Linked DNA regions of Homo sapiens: all the other regions are linked to region 1. Evidence: promoter capture Hi-C in human tissues and cell types (Jung and others, 2019). All regions are on one chromosome and are shown on one strand. Each heading gives the region's core, a stretch centred on a gene start or on the middle of the fragment in contact. The rest is flanking DNA. Distances are from core to core; before and after follow the strand shown. Region 1 holds the start of CSRP1 (cysteine and glycine rich protein 1). Region 2 overlaps LMOD1 (leiomodin 1). Region 3 overlaps NAV1 (neuron navigator 1).

Region 1 (3,990 bases), core at 572-3,071:
CCCAGGCTGCAACTCTGGCCCAGTCAGGACTCACTAGCTCCAGAGGCAGATGCACATGTGTGCAATTAAAAGAGCAAACACCTGGGCCAGGAAGGCAGGTGCTAAGACAGACCACAGGCAAATAGGCCACAGCACCCCTGTTTTTCCCATTTTATTAGCAGGCCAATTGCAGAGTTGATGGGCCTTCTCTTTAGTTTCTCTCCTGCTTCTTCTTCCCCATACCCTCCATCCTGGGCATCTCAGGCCTTGCAGACAGTTCTCTCCTCCCTCTCCTCTAACCCACACTACACCCTCTGCAGGATAAACTTCCTTCCTCGTCTGACTGCCTCCGCCCCGGATATCCTCTCCAAGGCAAAGAGTCATTCACTGGAAGACCGTGAGCAGGAGGAGGCTGGATTTAGGAAACAATGGGTAAAAGCTGCCCTCCAGCAGCTGAGGGCTGAGGACAGTCTCTCTCAAAAGAGGTAGCCAGAAACCAGCTGGAGAGTCAGGAGGCAGCAGTTGAGTGAGAGCAGTTGAGGGGAGGCTCAGTACCCATCCCCAAATCCCACCTGGGGAAAATCCCCAACATGCAGTCTGAGAGGACAGAGGGAGACAACCAGCACCTCCAGCCTCCTTAGCTTCTGGGAGGAAGGCAAGGGATGAGGGGAGGACAAGAAAGACAGTAACTGAGAGATCACTCCTGTGTTGGAGGTTCTGTGTAATATGCTCCCCAAGTAGCATCCCTGAAAGAAACTGAGACATTGAGAAGTTAAATAGTTTGTCCAAGGAAACCTGCGCGTTAAGTGGCAAATCCAAGAGTCAAAACTCTGCCTTCCAAACAATCCCACCAAGACTCCAAGCCACCTCTTCATGATATACTGATATACTTTCTACCAGGGCCCAGTGGATTTCCTCGGTGCCACTGTGATAGTATCCCAGCGTGGGGAGAGCCTGCCCATTCATTCACTCTCAGGGAGCAGCTGGTGGGTGGCTGGAGCCCAGGGCTCTAGGCAGAGCCTGAGCCCACTATTGCTCCAGCCGATTCCTGGGTCCTGGTTAGTTCACAACAGCACCAGAACCAGAAGCATGCAAAATATTCTCTAGTCTGTACCAGTAGATACAATACCTGCCTCAGAGGGCTGATTGTTAGCTAACACATTGTGATTTGCTTTAAATGTGCTCAATACCAGCCCCTTTATCACTTCCCAGCTTTCAAGGACTGAGGCCACAAAACACTGACTGCAGGCTCTTTCAGGTTTCAGTAACCATCACCACCTAGCACCAAGATTTGGAGTGGAGAGGTTTCCATGCAGTTATTTCACAAGAGGGAAAACTCACACCTGCGCTCAGGGACACAGATGTCCAAGGTCAGGCCCAGATGTTTGCCCCACCCCGCCCGCGGGCATTTTCTCCCCAGCAGGAGGGTGAGGGAGGGGGTGGCACGGATGCCCTCATCTCTCTGCCATACAATGAGCGTCAGTGGCGCGCAGAATCGCCGATTGTTCTGCCCGACTTGCAGGCGGTTGCGGGGAGCCGGGTCGCCCTGGGTCACGCACACGCGGAAGTCAACTGTGTCCAGGAAGCCCAGGAAGGCCCGGGATGGGGACGGACCTAGTGCCTCCAGAAAAGAGCAGCACTGCCCGGGCTAACTGCGGTCACTTCTCACAGTTCCCCGCCTGCGACAGCCCCGGGGCTGCGGCGGGGCTGGCAAGACCGGGAGGCGCTGAGTGCGTGCCCAGGCGCCCCTCCGCGGCGGGCAGAGCCGCGCGACTCAGGGCGCACTCACCTGGCAGCTGGCTCGGCGGCGCAGGGGCGGCAGGCGCTCTCGGAAGTGGCGGCTGGGTGCGCCCGGCCTGCGCGCCGTTTTGTTCCGCTCCGCGGAAGGCGTGTCCCGGGCCACGCCAACCAGTGGGCTTTGCACACTGCACCACTCCAGGGCTGATGTCATGGCGCGAAGCCCGGCGGTGCTGCCCTCCTAGGCCCCGGGAAGGCCGGCCGGCAGGGGCGGGGGCAGGAGTCGCCGACTCTGGGGGTGCTCCGAGCTCGTGCTGCGGTCCCACTGTGCGCCCTGTCGCCGCCACCGCGGAAAACGTCTTGCACGTGCGAGGGGCATTTCAGGAGTTTCCTGTCTGTCAGGTGAGAAGGCGGAGATATGACCTTAGAGGTCAGACCCATGATAAACTTGAGCCCCTAACGAAAGGGTGTCTCGAATTTACTTGTCCTGGTGGCAGAGGGTGAGGGACACATTTTGGGCGCCAGGGTAAGACAGACCCTTCCAGGGCAGGTCTGATTCTGCCCATCCACTCACTAGCTGGGCCCTGGGCCTAGACAGCCCTTCTGGGTTCAGGGTCATCTGTGAACGGCGTGTAATCTACAGGGATGTGAGGGGCTAAAAGGAGATCCGGTAGGACCCGCAGACCTTCAGCAGCACCCGGCATGTAATAGACACTCAATAAATGTAACTCCCCCCTCCAACAGCTCTTGCCCCTCAGTTTTTCCCAGTCTTCCCTGCTACCCTAAGGACAACACCTGGAAAAAGGTGTTCTCCCGCAAAAGCAGCAGTTCTGAAAAGTGGGTGCCTCCATAGAGGCTTTTCTCTGGGGCTCCAACCTTCAGTAGGACAGACACAGGCTCAGGCCACTCAAGCTGCCCCTGGGGCAGTTTCCAGGGGACATTCTGTCCACACCTCCTCACCCAGTCCCCAGCCCTTCCTGAGTGCCCCGTGCAGGCATTTCAGGGAGCAGAGAAGCTCACAGCCTCCAGCTGGTCACCCTACACCCCAGGTGGCCCATAGATGCAGCTGCTATGTCTTCCACCCTGGGCAGGTGTCAAGGGTTCAGGCCCCAACCGGCTTCACTTAAAGCCCTGGTTTGCTGAATCAACTTTTTGCCAGGAATAAAGTTAAGCATCTTATGATCTAGAAAATGAAGTATTTGGCCAGGCACTGTGGCTCACGCCTGTAATCCCAACACTTTGGGAGGCCGAGGCAGGCAGATTGCTTAAACCCAGGAGTTCGAGACCTGGTGAAACCCTGTTTCTACAAAAAAATTAAAAAAATTAGCCAGGCGTGGTGGTGTGTGCCTGTAATCCAAGCTACTCGAGAGGCTGAGGTGGAAGGATCACTTGAACTCAGGAGGCAGAGGTTGCAGTGAGCCAAGATTGCACCACTGCACTCCAGCCTGGGCGACAGAGCAAGAGTGTTTCTCAAAAAAAAAAGTGTTTATCTAGGTTTTTCTTGCTTTCTACCATAAGTAACATCTTTCCTTTGGCCAGGTCCATCCTATAAACAAGGCCCTCCAAGATTAAAATGTCTAGAAGCACACAACCAGTGTTTCTTGCAGATTGGGCCATCTTCATCTGACCCAACCAAGATGAAGGAGGAGAAACCAGAAGAATTTCTGGTCACGGCTGCACTGACTAAGCAATAGTTAAACAGGTCCATTAAACTGCAGAACCACCATCAGTGTCAGAGACCAAGGGCTTCCGCCCAAAGATGGCGATCCCATGGGATTTCCCCCTCTCCTTTCAATTCTCAGTATCTTGGAGAGATGAGCCTCGGAGTTTTGCCCAGGATTTTACAAAAGGGCAAACTCCTACATTACCTTCTTTGGTCTGGGTTTGTCCTCTCTGGAGTCATGGGACTGTTGATAGATTTCCCTGTGAGGACATGCCAACCTGTGCTGTGAAATGGCTTTAGGGTAGATCCAGAAAAAGAAGAGCAGTCACTGCAGTCACACTTGGATTTCTCCCAGATCTTAAAGCACCTTATAAACAGAATGGCTGTACAATGTGTCATCTAAACCAGAATGCTTTGGATAGTAAGTGGTATGTGGTAGTATTCGTAACTACACTAAGGCAACAGGACTATCTCAGGCAGTCCAGGGCAGATGGTCACCCCTCTTTTCCACCCAAAGACTGTCAGGTCACTTGTCTTAGGAGCTGTCTACGCAGAGCTACAGATGAAGCCAAGTAGGACCTGCCTTGTTTGGTGTTTTTCCAGAACCTCTC
Region 2 (3,990 bases), core at 847-3,346, 410 kb after region 1:
TATCCGAATTCTTCTCCCTTCTCTTAGTATCTCTCGTCCCACTCCACCCCTATTCTTGGCAGACAATCTCCTCTAATTTCTTCCCAGGCAGACAGAGGAAACAACCCATGGCAATTCTCCAACTTCCTGCCACCTCTTCTACAAACTCACCTCCAGGCTCATCTTTCACCTTCCCTCTCCTCCTGCCCAGGCTCACCCCTCCCCACGCACTCTGGTGCCCACCCCTCCTCCCCACATTGCACTCCCGCACCCTCTTCCACAGCCTTAGCCTCTCCCTCTTTCCTGGCCCCTTCCCACCACCCTTTAAACCTGCCCATCTCTCCCGGTTAATCAGATCCTCCTTCTGTCCACAGTCCCTTCCAGCTGTAGCGCCAGCCTTCCCGTATACCCAAACTTCCTCAAAGAGCTCTACTTTTTGATCCGTATTCATTCCTCAATCCAACACACTCTTGCCTCACCCCCAACATTCCATGGAAATTAGTTTCATCCAGATCACTTCTGACCCTCCTGTCACTAAGTCGGATTTATCTTTTATTTCATATATTGCTCAAACTGCGTGGGAAGCATCTGGCGCTATTGGCCAGGTCCTTCCTTCAAAACGCTTCCCCATCGGTTTCCACCGCAGCCTTCATGGCTTTCCTCCTAGCTCTCTGATAGCTCCTTTAGGCCTCCTTCAAGGACCCTCTTCCTTGAGACATGTGGGTGTTGGCAAGGTCTTATTTTAGGCCTCCTTTGTTTTCACCTTTAGAGCCTCTCACCGGATTATCTCATCCATTCTGATGGCATCAGCTGCATTCTACGTACTGATGTCTCTCAAAGCTGGATCTCTGGGCCAGACACTACTAGGAAGGTAGTACCGTCTAATGAATATCTTGGTTTGTGTGCCCCAAAGTACCTCAAAAACTGGACTCCTTATCTTCCCCCACTGCCTTGCCGACCCCTGCACTATTCCCTATCTGGGCAAGTGGCTCCTCTAAACACCCAGTGACTCCAATCAGAACCCGGCTGGGAAGAGGAAAGGAGGGATCTGTGGGGAGGCAACGTGGACCCCTCTGCACCCCGCTCTGCACTCACTCACCCTTCCCTACCAGTAGCCCAAGTGATTTTGGGGGAAGGCTGGGAAATCGACCTATTATATACTCCCTCGTTACCTGCACACAGATACTACAGCCTGAACCCCACTCAGATCAATCCCTCTCCTCCATCCTCACAGATGTTCCCTTGGTCCAGGCCACTATCACCTCTCATGGGGTTATAGCAACAACCTCCTCTCGGTTTCGCTGACCTCCTCCAGGGCGATCCTTGCACGGCAGCCCCAGGGACCTTGCTGAAGGCCAGACCCATCCGAAGCCTTTCAGTGTCTAATGTCTGAACTTTTTTTTTTTGATACAAGGTCTCATTCTCTCCTCTGGGCTGCAGTGCAGTGGTGTGACACGGCTCACTGCAGCCTTGACTTCCTCCAGCTTGTGATCCTCCCACCTCAGCCTCCTAGGTAGCTGCTACTACAGGCATGCACCACCACACCCAGCGGATTTTTGTATTTTTTGTAGAGACGGGGTTTCGCCATGTTGCCCAGGCTGGTCTTAAACTTCTGGGCTCAAGCGATCCACACACCTTGGCCTCTCGGAGTGCTGAGATTACGGTGTGAGCCACCACACCTGGCTTGAACTACTTTTATGATCAGAAAAATACAACAAAGGCACATCTATTCCAGGACTTTGGAAGGTCAGGGTGAGGGGAAGCTGGAGCCCAGGAGTTCAAGACCGTCCTGGGCAACATGGTGAAACTCCATCTCTACAAAAAATACAAACATTAGCCAGGCGTGGTGGCATGTGCTTGTAGCCCTAGCTACCTGGGAGGCTGAGGTGAGAGGATCACCTGAGCCAAGGGAGGTCGAGGTTGCAGTGAGCCGTGATCATGCCACTGCACTCCAGCCTGAGCAACAGAGAGAGACCCTGTCTCAAAAAACAAAACAAAACAAAACAAAACAAAAACCAACAAAAGCTGTTTTATGAAAAAGAAACAAAATTGTCTTTAAATAACTGAGTTTCACAGCAAAAACAAAACAAAATTAAAAACCAAGAGGCATCAGGCCGTGGTGTGGGGAGGAGGGATGGATGGGGCCAGAGGTGGGAGGGAGGGGATTCCCCGTCACTGTGCTCAGTCTTCAGCCCGGCTGTGCTGTGCCCAGGACCTGCCTCGCAGCCTGACCTTCGCCTGGCTCTGTTCCAGCAATTACACATCAGCCCCGGTGATAAACATCAGTGCTGAGCAGAGGGCCAAAGGGTCTCAGGCACTGCCTCCAGCTCCAGCATAAACAGAAACGCCATGATTCATTTTTACCTCCCAAGATGATCTCCAGGGGTCGGAGTGGCGCAATGGCAGCCAAGAAAAGGGCAGCGGTTTGTGAACCTGGGAAAAAAAGGGCATTTTCTGATGCAGTCCTGCGGGAGACCAGGCTTTACAAGAGGAGTGAACGCCACCATCTCAGGGCCTGCTCTGTCTTTGTAGGGAAGGGGAGCAAAGAAACCTTCTGGAAAAGACAAGGATAATGTGCAGATGTGGGTGGCTGGGCACTTACACTGCATGTGTCACCAAACTCTGCCAAGGCTGGGAGGGTTCTTGCCTGCCTTGAGTCTTTAAGGACCAGGGTTTCTAGTGAAAGGGATGGTAAATGGGGGAAGGTGGCCTGACCTCAAAAGCCTGCCAAGAGCCATCAAGAGGCACCAGAAAGGAAGGCACGGTGAGCGGTGTCTGTGTTTCACCTAGGCCCTTACCCCTACCACCAAGGCTTCTGCATTCACTGCAAGTAGAGAAAGACAGAGGCGTTTTGAGGTGAGGGCATGCAACACAGCCTGCAATAGCTAAGACTTCACAGTCAGCGCCATTCTGGCTTCTGCCTGGGGGTTATGCAGAACCCATCACTAGGGGGATGAAGGTTCTTGTGGCAGATCTTCTCGGCCAATGAAGGGTCAACTCCATTGCTCTCAGCAGAACTAAATGCTTTGCCAACTGGTCTGGTGACTCATACTGGGAAGCTTGTAGCAAACCCCATTTTTGGAGAAACCGGGAAATCTCTTTGGGGAGATAAACAAGTCACTGTAGCACTCTGCTCTCTGAAGTGCCTGGCTAGTACTTTCTGCTTCTTCATTTTATCCCAGCACCAAGGAAAACCCAAGCAAGTCTGGGAAATGTTGTAAAGATCTACACAAATGCAAGCTATTTGTCCCAGGCTTCTGGGTCCCACTTAGGTCCCGGAGGGTGGCAGAAGGAACATACTGTTCTTTTACTGCCTGGGGCTGTGAGCAGGAGGCCTGGCTTTCATACAGCCCCTCTCCTGTTCCTTCTAAACAGAAAAGGGTACATTGGCTAAAGCAGGAGCAGCTTTATGGTGTCTGACCTCTGCAGTGCTCCAGGGCCCCATGCTCAGAGGGCCCTACGCTTGGTTTAATTCTCTGCTGTCATCGTCTTGAAAGTTTTAGTAATTCTTGAGCACATTTTCATTTTGCGCTAAGCCCTGCAAATTCTGTAGCCAGTCCTAGGCCTAAGAGGCCAGGGATCAGGGATGGTGCAGCTCTCTGTCTTCCCGCCTTCTCCCTCTTCAGGAATGGCTCTCCCACCCCACAGACACTGGGACATCAGCCTTGACGCTTCCTTTTTCCCTCACCACGTTCCCTTCATCCCACCTTCCTAACATAGCTGAGATTAGCTTCCTCACATCCCCTCACCATTGCTGTGTTTGCGGCCTCCATCATCTCTTGCCTCCCCACTGAACCCCCTGCCTCCTGTCTTCCTTCTCTTTGAGTGCACTCTGTCTCCAGAAAGACCTTTCAAAATGTGATTCTGATCCATGGCTCCCATGCTTTCAGGATGAAGTGCAGACTTTGTAGCATGGCAACAAAGCCCTCCGTGACCTGGCCTGTGCCTGCCTCTGTGCGCCCTCCCCTTCCTGCCTGCACTCTGGTTACAGTGAGGAACAGCCACGCTGGG
Region 3 (3,990 bases), core at 555-3,054, 260 kb after region 1:
CTACTTCCAGAATGGAGGATTGGCAATGACGTACAAGCAGTACGAATGCTTCTTTTTTTCTTTTTCTTCTCTATTCTTTTCCAACCTCTTCCTTTTTTTCTGAGTCAAAACTAAATCAGAGGCCATGCTCAGTGATTCATGCCTGTAATCCTAGCACTTTGGTAAGCCAAGGCGGGAGGATAACTTGAGGACAGGAGTTCAAGACCAGCCTAGGCGACATAGTGAGAACTTGTCTCTACAAAAAAATTAAAAAAAAAAAATTATCTGGGCATGGTGGCACCCGCATGTAGTCCCACCTACTCAGGAAGCTGAGGTGCGAGGATCCCTTGAGCTCTGGAGCTTGAGGCTGCAATGAGCTGTGTTTGCACCACTGCATTCCAGTTAGGTGACAGAGTGAGACCCTGTCTCAAAGAAAACAAACAAACAAAAAACCCAAAAAACTGAATCAGTAGTAGAAAAATCTTGTTTTGACTTGAAAATTGAGCAGGTTAGATCAGAAGTAATAAAAGTGGAAATCCAAGAGGTCATTCTTAGCCCAGAGTTGCTTTTTTGCCCAGGACTTGTCAGTTACGGAATTGTTATTTCTTTTCATTTTTAGGGGTTCTTTTTTTGGTCTAGCCCCAGGGCTGGTGACCTTTGGCCTGCTTGGCCAAATCCAGTCCACTGCCTGTTTTTGTATGGCCTGCAAGCTGAGAGTGGATTTCACATTTTTAAATGATTGGAAGGAACAAAAGAAGAACAATATTTTGTGACACATGAAAATTATGTGAAATTCAAATTTCAGTGGACATAAATAAAGTTCTATTGGAACATAGCCGGATTCATTTGTTTACATACTATCTATGGCTGCTTTTGTGCTACAATGGCAGAATTGAGTAGTTGTGACAGAGACTTTATGGCCTGCAAAGCCTCATAAATATTTACTATCTGGCCAACCCCTACTCTGGACCCTTAAGCCAAACTTTTCCTACTTTTCGGAGTATTGTCAATTATCTCTTACTTCCTTATTGGTTTAGAGAAGGTGCAGAAATGCAGACACTATTCTACATTTCTTTTCAATTAGCTAGGGATTTTGGAATTGTGCAGTGGACTCCTAAGGAAACACTGCAGGAAGAATATGGGTGAGACAGTGGTGAGGAAGTAGGAATTATCTCATGAAATTTAAAATCAAATATCATTTTCATCCCTTTCCAAAAATCCTTAAAATGGGACATCTATGTGGGTTTTAGAAAGAGAAAAAAAAAATGTTGGTTCTGAACAGAATCCTACTGACTATTCTTAGAGCCTCCTTCAGGCCCTCTCCAATAAAAATATGGAAACTCAAAATAAGGTCACTCACATCAATTGACACCTTAATTTTGTGACTTTTTAGTTTTCCTCAAGATGTTTTCTTGACCAAGTTAAGAATCAAAATCATTTTCCTTGATGTTCAAACTTTCTAAAGATTTTGATTAGTGGGTGTTCAATTACCTGTTTATACTTGGGGAAATTGAGGCTAAGACAAGTACACTAACTCAACTGTAGTAATAGCGACTAGTAGAGATAGAAGTACATACTCAGTACTCCAGAGCTTGCTCTAGAGGACTGCCTTTTATCTTTTGAAGGTGAATTTGATGGTATCCCTGAGAATTTTTTGCTTTTCTTGAGATTCTCAGTTATCTTTCACTCTTTGAAGGATTTCAATTTCCTGACTTGGAAACATCTGAAAAAGAGAGGAAGGTGCCTTGTTTTTTCATTCCCACTCCTGTGAAAGAAGTACAGGAGGGGAAAGACTTGGGGCAGACAAAAAGGGAAATCTCTGAAACTAGAGAAAACTCAAACAAATTGTGGCCAGCCGAGTCAGCATTCCTCACCCACAGTTGGTCCTAATTAAGGAGACTCCCGTTAAACAGCTCAACTTTCTGCTCTTTCTTCTTGCTCTGGCCCTGCCAGCTGACATGGCAAAGCTTTAACCGACGGCTTGGAAACAGTCTCTCATGTCTTTCCTTCTATATTCTCACTTCTCTGTCTCTCCTCTACTACCCTGCAATTACCCTTTCCCACATTAAGATCCCAATAAAATATATTGATACCTCTAATCCAATTGCATCCATTTTGTTCCACAAAGTGCTATCCAAGCTGTTTGCAGGGCTGAATACTTGTGTATCATGTCATTACAGGAGCACATATAGAGCCTGATTTCATCACAGAAAGATGGAATTTCTCCGGGATTATTTCGCTGCCAAGTCCAAGCAGCAATGATAATTCCTTCCACTTTGCCTGACTCCTTGATTTTCTCAATCCATAGCTTCTACTGTGCCTAGCAGATGGATTCGGGTATTTAATTTTCCTATAATAACCTATGATATCATGATTTAAAAAAATCTGATGGCAGTAAATCTGAATTGAAAACTAGCCTGAATCATAGAGGTGGTCAATATCCAATGTAGTTCAATGGGGGATATTGACATGTAGATAAAATAAGCTTATTTTCGTAACTTAATGGTTGTGGTAGTCTGCTCAAGCTGACATAACAAAATACCACAGGGCAGGTGGCTTAAACAATAGAAGTTTATTTTCTCACAGTTCCGAAGCCCAGCAGTGCAAAATCAAGGTGCCATCTGGGTTGGTTTCTGATGAGGCCTCTCTTCCTGGCTGTAGACAGCCACCTTCTCACTGTGTCCTCACATGGCCTTAACTGTGCACACACAGAAAGAGAGCTCTCTGGTGTCTCCTTTTTCTTATAAGGACACGAGTCCTATCAGATGAGAGCTCCACTCTTATAAGATCATTTAATCTTAATTACCTCCCTGAACGCCCCATCTCCAAATACAGTCACTGGGAGTTACAGCTGTAACACATACACTTGGGGGGAACATAATTTATTCCATAACAATGGTCTAAATTTAAGAAACTCTCTTAACCTTAGGGCAAAAATTCAATGCCAGAATCAAGAAAGCAATGCCTAAAGCAGGGTGTTAGGAGGCAAGATGATAATTTAAAGAAAATTTTCTGAGTCATAGACACATTTGAGAATCTGAAAGTATGATCAGATACCAGAAGATTGCACATGCATAGAATTTTATGTATAACTGCAAGGGCATTCGGTTCTCCAGACCAGTTACTTTTCTTTTGCCACTGGCAAGATGGCGTCTGTGAAGAACAAGCACAGAAATGCATGGCTTTATTCTGACTGAGTGGGGTTCTGCCTAGGTCTGGACCTATGGCCCTATTGCCACCATTAAAAACACTTGAACCTTTATCAGAAAGGAGAGTGAGCTAAAGTGGGTATGCTGAAGGTGGCTAGAACTTCAGCAAGGAAGCCTTGAGGTGAACTAGATTTAGAACCAAGCAGACAAGTTTTCACACTTTTCCATTATATTAAGAATCATCAGAAATAACAGAAGTCCTTTCTCTATGGGCACATTAGGGTGGCCTTTTATATTCTTGGAGGTGCCATGTCCCTGTGTTTATTTGCTTTAACTCCTTTCTAAGTGCCATACAGAACTCTGTCAGTCACTATAACTGAGTGACTTAAAAGAAAAAGGCAATGGTGGAAATCTATTATTTCAGCATCGAACAGAATGATCAAGGTACAGTAGAGCATTGGAGTATAATTTTCTTGGATGGGTTTGATCTTCAGGAAATATTCTTTTTTTTTTTTTTTTTTTTTTCTTTTTTTTGAGACAGACTCTTGCTCTTTCACCCAGGCTGGAATGTAGTGGTGCCATCTCAGCTTACTGCAACCTCTGCCTCCCAATCTCAAGCAATTCTTGTGCCTCAGCCTCCTGAGTAGCTGGGACGACAGGCGCGTGCCACCACACCTAGCTAATTTTTTGTATTTTAGTAGAGACGGGGTTTCACCATGTTGCCCAGGGTGGTCTTGAACTCCTAAGCTCAGGCGATCCGCCCACTTTAGCCTCCCAAAGTGCTAGGATTACAGGCATAAGCCACCACACCCGGCCCAGGAAATATTTACAAAATTCGTGGTAGTAATCTTCATAATCTTCC

Evidence for each region. The method cuts DNA at HindIII sites, captures the fragments that hold promoters and counts their contacts. A contact is called where the count stands out against the background at its distance.
Region 2: a fragment that was not itself captured here is called in contact with the fragment with the promoter of CSRP1 in region 1 in 1 of the 25 tissues and cell types used here (neural progenitor cells).
Region 3: a contact is called between a fragment that was not itself captured here and the fragment with the promoter of CSRP1 in region 1, in 4 of the 25 tissues and cell types used here (bladder, heart left ventricle, hippocampus and 1 more).

The regions. Positions count from the first base shown.
Region 1 is chr1:201,505,302-201,509,291 of GRCh38, forward strand. CSRP1 (cysteine and glycine rich protein 1) reads right to left here and starts at 1,822. Exons shown (of 6, transcript NM_004078.3): 1 at 1,769-1,822. It overlaps CSRP1-AS1 (CSRP1 antisense RNA 1), which reads left to right and starts at 1,912. Exons shown (of 2, transcript NR_160747.1): 1 at 1,912-2,118. RefSeq lists a silencer at 1,524-2,153. The HindIII fragment of the contact is 18,281 bases long and covers 1-3,990 here.
Region 2 is chr1:201,914,553-201,918,542 of GRCh38, forward strand. All of the region lies in intron 1 of LMOD1 (leiomodin 1), which reads right to left. Among named protein-coding and RNA genes, the nearest start is that of SHISA4, 28 kb to the left of the region's middle. RefSeq lists an enhancer at 1-157. The HindIII fragment of the contact is 6,571 bases long and covers 1-3,990 here.
Region 3 is chr1:201,761,751-201,765,740 of GRCh38, forward strand. The region is part of intron 7 of NAV1 (neuron navigator 1); the gene reads left to right. All of the region lies in intron 2 of IPO9-AS1 (IPO9 antisense RNA 1), which reads right to left. LOC124904483 (a long non-coding RNA gene) reads right to left here. Exons shown (of 2, transcript XR_007066790.1): 1 at 1-3,990. Among named protein-coding and RNA genes, the nearest start is that of MIR5191, 44 kb to the left of the region's middle. The HindIII fragment of the contact is 4,715 bases long and covers 1-3,990 here.